Regions from separate parts of the Homo sapiens genome. Here region 2 is linked to region 1. The links are contacts of gene promoters, found by promoter capture Hi-C in human tissues and cell types (Jung and others, 2019). All regions are on one chromosome and are shown on one strand. The core of a region is centred on a gene start or on the middle of the fragment in contact, and the rest is flanking DNA. Distances in the headings are between cores, read along the strand shown.

What was found. Contacts are between HindIII fragments. The study calls those that stand out against the background at their distance.
Region 2: a fragment that was not itself captured here is called in contact with the fragment with the promoter of BPIFB6 in region 1 in 1 of the 25 tissues and cell types used here (spleen).

Annotation. Positions count from the first base shown.
Region 1 is chr20:33,029,938-33,033,285 of GRCh38, forward strand. It overlaps BPIFB6 (BPI fold containing family B member 6), which reads left to right and starts at 1,711. Exons shown (of 15, transcript NM_174897.2): 1 at 1,711-1,807; 2 at 3,047-3,146. The coding sequence starts at 1,711. The HindIII fragment of the contact is 18,408 bases long and covers 1-3,348 here.
Region 2 is chr20:33,071,204-33,074,551 of GRCh38, forward strand. BPIFB3 (BPI fold containing family B member 3) reads left to right here. Exons shown (of 16, transcript NM_001376932.3): 13 at 50-92; 14 at 901-964; 15 at 1,514-1,590; 16 at 2,373-2,644. The coding sequence ends at 2,402. Among named protein-coding and RNA genes, the nearest start is that of BPIFB4, 6.8 kb to the right of the region's middle. The HindIII fragment of the contact is 5,429 bases long and covers 1-3,348 here.

The DNA.
Region 1 (3,348 bases), core at 461-2,960:
AGGCTCAGGGCAGTCGGGGGTTGAGGAAGGCTTCCTGGTAGATGAGGCAAGTGCTGAAATTAGGACTTGAGGGTTGAGTCAGTGATAGATGGATGGAGGGAAGGCATTCTAAAAGGGAGGGGCAGCTTAGGACAAGCACATTCAGAAACAAAACCCTAGCATTAGCCATTTGTCCCAGAGACACCCGCATGACCACGTTACCTGAAGCCACTTATTATTCTGAAAGGGCAAAAAAAGACCCTGCCCTGAGTGACCCTAACACCTGGCATCAGTTCTGGCCTGGGGACGGGAGACTGGGGTGAGGCTCAGTCACCCCGTCTGTGAGATGGGGCTGGGGCTGGAGGAGACCTTCACCAAGCCCCTCCCAGCTCTGTTGCCTGGCTCAGAATTTCACAGCCCCTTTGGGGATGATTTTTAAAGAGATTTGACATGGGGTGTGCCGGGACATGAGCACACGTCATGGCACGCACCTGTGCATTCACAGTGGTCGAGAAGCGCTACTGTGGATTATTTTAAGCCCAGATATATCTTCCATTTAGTGAATATTGACTATTGGCTTGAACACTTCTCGATACTTAAGCTCCTTTTCATCCCTCAGGTCTCAGCCTAAATGTTTCCTCCATAAGGAGTCCGTCCCTGACCCCTTTATCCCATATCCCACCCTATTGCTTCTCGTTCCCTGCCAGACTTTAGGATTTAGGAGGAGCAGGGCTGTCTCTGCCACCGAGATAAAAGAGACAAGCCCGGTCTGCTTGGCACAGAGAAGACACCCAATAGATGTGAGCCGAATGAATGAATGAGTGAATGAGTGAATGAATGCAGGCATTGGCTTGGACTGGGAAGGCAGGCCCATGGTAAGGGCCCATCTTAGTTTGTGCATTAGGTGAGCCCTCAGTGACTTAGCCCGCTGAGAGCAAGAGAGAGTCTGGTGGGAACCTCCTCTCTCTGGGTGGACATAGGCCCTGCTCCCATGGGCCCTGCCTTCATTCTTTTCAGCCAAAGCTCAAAACTGAAATATACACTTGGCCCTTGGTTGGAAGAGTTTCAGATCTTGGTAAGTAAGAGGGAAGGATTTCTATGGGCCCGGGGTGGGGTAGGGCTTTCCTGGGAACCTGAAAAGGTCTGGGGTGGGAGGTCCTTATGCTAGGAGACCTAATGTCTGTGCCTCAGTTTCTCTATCGGAGAGGCGATGTCTCAAGAGGCCTTTCAGGGCTCAGAGTTGAGCTTTCTGAGTTCCACATGGAAGTGAGCTGAGCTGGAAGAGGTGGGGAGGGACCCTGGCTGTAGGGTCAAGGTGGGGACACAGGGCTCCCCACTCCCACAATGCCGTGTGGGGCTCAAGGAAAGTCTGGAACTCTCTCTGTGGCTCCAGCATTCAGCCGTCCTTGAACCCATGAAAAACTGCAGTTGAACCTTCCTCCAACCCCATCTTGCAGGCTGGTCAGAACACACCATGTCCATGGGGAAACTGAGGCTTACAGAGGGAAATGAGCTAGCTGGGGGTGGCTGGAGGCCCTGTGTTTAATCTGGGGGTTCCTCAATCCCTTGGAAGAGGGCAGTGCTCATGTTTGCTGAACTGGCTGGAGTCTAAAGGCTCTTGGACCCCAGAAACACCCAGGGGGCTCAATCTGCTCTGAGACAGAAGGTCCCCAAGGGGACCAGGGTCTGGTGGGCTGCGCCCAATTCAGGCCCCTTGGCACAGGTGGTGCCATGCTGCGGATCCTGTGCCTGGCACTCTGCAGCCTGCTGACTGGCACGCGAGCTGACCCTGGGGCACTGCTGCGGTTGGGCATGGACATCATGAACCGTGGTGAGCTTGTGGGCCCGGGCGTGCAGCTGGGAGGCGGTGCTTGGGGTAGGTGGTAGGTAGTCACTGCTCTTGGTTGCACATCCTGGAGCATCCCGTGAGCTCCAAGTAAACTTATAAGCAAGTGTTATTATTATTCTCCCACTTTACAGAGGGGAGAAACCAAGGACCAGAGAAAATGGGATGATTTTCCCATGCTCCCCCTGCAAGTTAGAGGCAGAGCTGAAAATCCTGCTCCTTTGGAGTCTCTCCTTGGCCCTGATGGCAGGGGTTTTAGCCACAAGTGGGCTGTGGGAGTGACAGACAAGGGTCAAATCCCAGCAACAACTTGCTGTGTGACCTCAGGCAAGTTACTTGGCCTCCCTGTGTTGCTGTTTGCTCATCTGTAAAGGTGAAATGTAAAGAAATGTAAAATAGGGTGACCAGTCTGTCCCTAGCAGGATAGAATAATCTCTTGGAGGAGACCTTAGTAAAATGTGTTTTCCACCTCCATCCCCCACTCCACTAGCACAAGGGAAACCGAGTCACATCCAGGTACAAAAGGCTAATGACTGTTCTACCAGCTCAGTGTTTGTGCCCTCTCTGGAATTAGCTTGTGACCATAATGGAGGTGTTTCTGGCGGGGTGTTACTTGGGGTTGGGTCCTCCAGGTTTGGGGAATCAGAATTTCTCTGCTTCAGGCCCAAAGTCTGCATTCAAGTCCCCAGAGGAGTCCCCTAATCACCTAGGCTTGGGAGTGGCTGGTCCACAGGATAAAGTCAGTACCCTAGGGTTCAAGAGCTTCACTACATGCCCCCTGCAAACTGCTCCAGTTTCTCTGTCGTGTCTGTCCTCACCCTCCAGCCATGCTGAATCTATCCTCTTCCCCCAACTGTGCCACCTTCTCTCCCACCCACCTTTGCACTTGCTGTGCCCTCTGTCCAGACTGATATCTTTTATCCCTTTGCTTCCTGCTGAAAATTACTATTCCCCTTTCAAGTACCAACTGATCTGTCACCTCCTCCTGGAAGCCTTCCCCAGCTCTTCTCTTCCTACCTAAACCCTCGTGCGGCTCCTACAGCTTGTTACTGTCATTGCTGGTGACTCCATCTTCCCCCATTAGGCTGGGGCGCTGTGGGACTCATCTCTGGGTCTCTGCCATCGTCCAGCCCAGGGTGGGGCACAGTGACGGTGAGTGGCCTGGGATACCTGAGTGATTGGCCCAGGGAAAATCTCTCCAACTAAGTGTCTCCACTCCAGAGGTCCAGAGCGCCATGGATGAGAGTCATATCCTGGAGAAGATGGCAGCCGAGGCAGGCAAGAAACAGCCAGGGATGAAACCTATCAAGGGCATCACCAAGTGAGTAGGGGAGGGGAGCTGGAGGGTGGTGGTTAGGGCAGAGGGTGGTGGGGATTGCTGTGCCCAAGATCTTAGCAGGCCAGGTAATGGAGCTGGTGAGGGATGTGGGGTCTCTTCCCTGCCTTGTGCTGTCTTGCTGTGTGGCCTTGGGTAGGTCACTGCTCCTGCCTGTGCCTGGACCTCCTCAGCCATTCACTGGGGA
Region 2 (3,348 bases), core at 422-2,921, 41 kb after region 1:
GGGTGGTTGGGGGTAGCGGGGGCCCCAGCATCTCTCTTCTCTCCACCAGGCTCAGTGTCAAGGTGGCCTCCTCCTTTACCCATGCCTTTGACGTAAGTTCCTGGGAGGGTGAGGGGCTTGGCAGTGATGAGAGTCTTCAGGTGTGGCATGGAAAGGGGGTGGCCATGAGTCATGGGCCATATGACTGAGCTGACCTCAGGACTGGGATCCTCCCCAATTAAGCCAGAGTGGGCAAATATCAGGGCGGGTGTGCGTGAGAGAGAGCAGGGGGTGTGGGCAGTGGGGAGAGAGAGAGAGAAACAGTGATCATCTTAGGAAAGTGAATCTCATGATCTTCCACGGTCTTGGAACCTCACAAAGTTGTGGACATCTAGAACCTCACAAGGGTCCATCATTCTGGAACTTCTCCCAAGTAATAAATTTCCCGAACTCAGCAAGTTCCATTTCAGAGCTCACAGAGCCCCGAGGTTCCTGCTTCTTACAGAGTTCTGAGGTTCTGGAATCTCACCATGGGCTCAGGTTCTAGAACATTCTCAGAGTCCCTAAACTGACAGGAATCTAAGGTCAGACCCCATAGACTGGAGCTGGGCACATTTCCTTCCCTCTTTCTTAGGCACTGCCCACCTCCAGCCCCAACAGAGTCTTATAGGAAGGCACTTCTTCCAAGCTCATGGGGCCTGGGGTAAAGCCAGCCTAAATCACAGAATCTCTTTCGAGGTCACTGGTGGACAGCCCAGGCCACCCCCAAGTGCCCAGTGCCTGCCAGGAGCTGTGTCCTCAGGCTTGGGGGAGGCTGAGGCAGCTGGGCCCCTGGGTTTCTCTCCCTGGGAACGGGATGCTGCTGCCTGTAAAGCCACACCCCAGAGCACCACCCCCACCACCCTGTGTGTTCTGTTGCAGGGATCGCGTTTAGAAGAATGGCTCAGCCATGTGGTCGGGGCAGTGTATGCACCAAAGCTTAACGGTATGGCAGGTTTTGCTCTCTTGGACACATGGAGTGTCTGAATTTGGTATTGTCTAGTCTGTTGCCTCTCTTTATGGTTCTGATGGGGACACTGAGGCCAGAGAGAGAGGTCGATCCTCATTTGCAAGATGCAGAAACTGAGGCACCAATTTTTCCATTTAAATGACATTGATTAGCACCTACATCTTGCCAGCCTATGGACTTCAAGCGCTGATCTGACCTCAGTCCTGCCTTAAGCTCCCACAGTCTAGTAGGAAATAATCATATAAACAAATGATTAGAATATAGATGACCCAGAGTGTGTAAGGGATTGATGAAGCCTTTAGGAGGCTTGACACGGGGGCACCACTGACACAATACAGAATAGGGACATTTTTGTTTGGGTGTAGGAGGATGAGTAGGAGTTTGCCAATAAGAAGCTGATTCTGTGAGAAGAGAACTGGCTGGCTAGTGAAAGTGATGGAATAGGGTCAGCAGGGTCCGAGGGTTCCTAGGGTCCAAGAGCTCCCCACCAATGTACCTTTGTTTTCAACGATTCTCTTTTCACAGTGGCCCTGGATGTTGGAATTCCCCTGCCTAAGGTTCTTAATATCAATTTTTCCAATTCAGTTCTGGAGATCGTAGAGGTGAGCCTTCTCTGCAGATACGGCCCAGGTGGGCCTTAAGCTTGTCTCTGGAAAGCTCTGCTTGAAACTAATGAGGGGAATGCTTTGCTTCATCCTCTTGTCTGTCCCTGATCCATTTTCTAAATTTCTCAGTGAGTTACAAATTGCCTAACTTAGGAATGGCAAATATATGACATGTGTGCTACTACTCCTCCATTTCTTGCCCATGGCAGACATCATCAATCAATCACGGAGTTCTTTCCCATTGGATTCAGAGACATGTCTGGCCTCTAGAATGGAACCTAAGATTCACTCACAGAATCACAGTTCCCCTGGTCCAACAGCAACAAATACATATGCCATCTCTCCCTTATCTTGTGTCTGCAGCAGATATGACCAATGGATCATGACCCTTTTTCTTGTGGAATATTGATATGGCCTCACAATCCTTTTCAAACCAGCCCAACTTTGGGTGGTGGAATAGCTCTAGGAGGTGGGCAGAGCAGAGAGTTCTGTACCCATTTCTCAGATGAGGACCAAGGCTGAAGTAGGTCAGATTTCTGGCCCAAGTTCACCAGTAAATTAATAGCAGAAATGGCAGTTGAACTTGAGTCTATTAAGTCCTCAAGTCAGAGCCTGTCCCACACTGGATGTCATTTTTTCATCATTCATTTATTCATTTAATGAGTGCCTGCTGTGTTCCAGGTACAGGGCCAATCCCAGGGCAGGGGAGTAAAGATGGCTGCAGGGATGGGGCATTGCAGAGACTCAGGGGTGTAACCAAGAGCGGTTGTTCCTTACAGAATGCTGTTGTGCTGACCGTGGCATCCTGAGGCTGAGACATGGCCACCAGCCTTCCCTGTTGACTACTAGAGACCACCTGTCTACTCTGCCTCAATTTCCCTCCCAGTCTCTAGCTGATGTTGGTGACAGTAAAAATGCCCTCTGGCCCTGAAGCACTACTCCAAGTTTGGGGTGGGAACTGCCTGGCTAATCATAGAACTGCCTCAGAGAGAGCTCTGGGGCCTCAGTAGCAAACCCTGAGCTTTCAATAAATGACTCCTGTATCTCGGTATCTCCTGGCTGGTTTATTCCCCAGTCACGTAGGACTTGACTTGGCCTTTGCCTCCAGTGCCCTCCTTAGCTCCAGGTAGGAGCTTCTGGGAGGTGAGGGGACTCAGGGCCTTGTCATTGTAGCTTTGAGTCCCAAACTGACCTTGTTGGCCTGGGCAGCCTCTGTGTCCTGTTCTGCCTTCCTCTCTGTCCCTGCCCCCCTTGCCTCCAGCTCTCTCTCTCTCTCTTTCTCTAAATACTTCTACTTTTCACTCTCTCTCTCTCTGAGTCTGCATTTTTCTCTGTTTCTGACTTTGGGATGCTTATCAGAAGTGACATCTGAGCTGAATTTTGAAGGGAGAATAGGAGCTTTCCAGGAAACAAAGGCACTAGCACCCCAGGAAGCAAGGATGAGTGAGACTTGTTCTTGCCCTGTGGTGTGGGGGGGTCCCTATTGGCTGCACATCAGACATGGACACAGCTCAGAACAGAGCTGTGCCAAACGCTCTTGGTGCAGATGGGGAGACTGAAGCCAGAGCAGGGCTTGGCTGGCCCTGGTCCACACAGCGGCAGAGTTGGGATGAGAGACTAGGGGTCCTGCCTCTAGGTCCTGGGCTTCTCCCCACTGCTTACGATGGGCACCTTTGGTGAAAAATATCCCCAAGTTGGCACTTACAGATGGCCTGAGTGAAGAAGTGCCAACCAAGTTTTGATAACTGGCTCAGA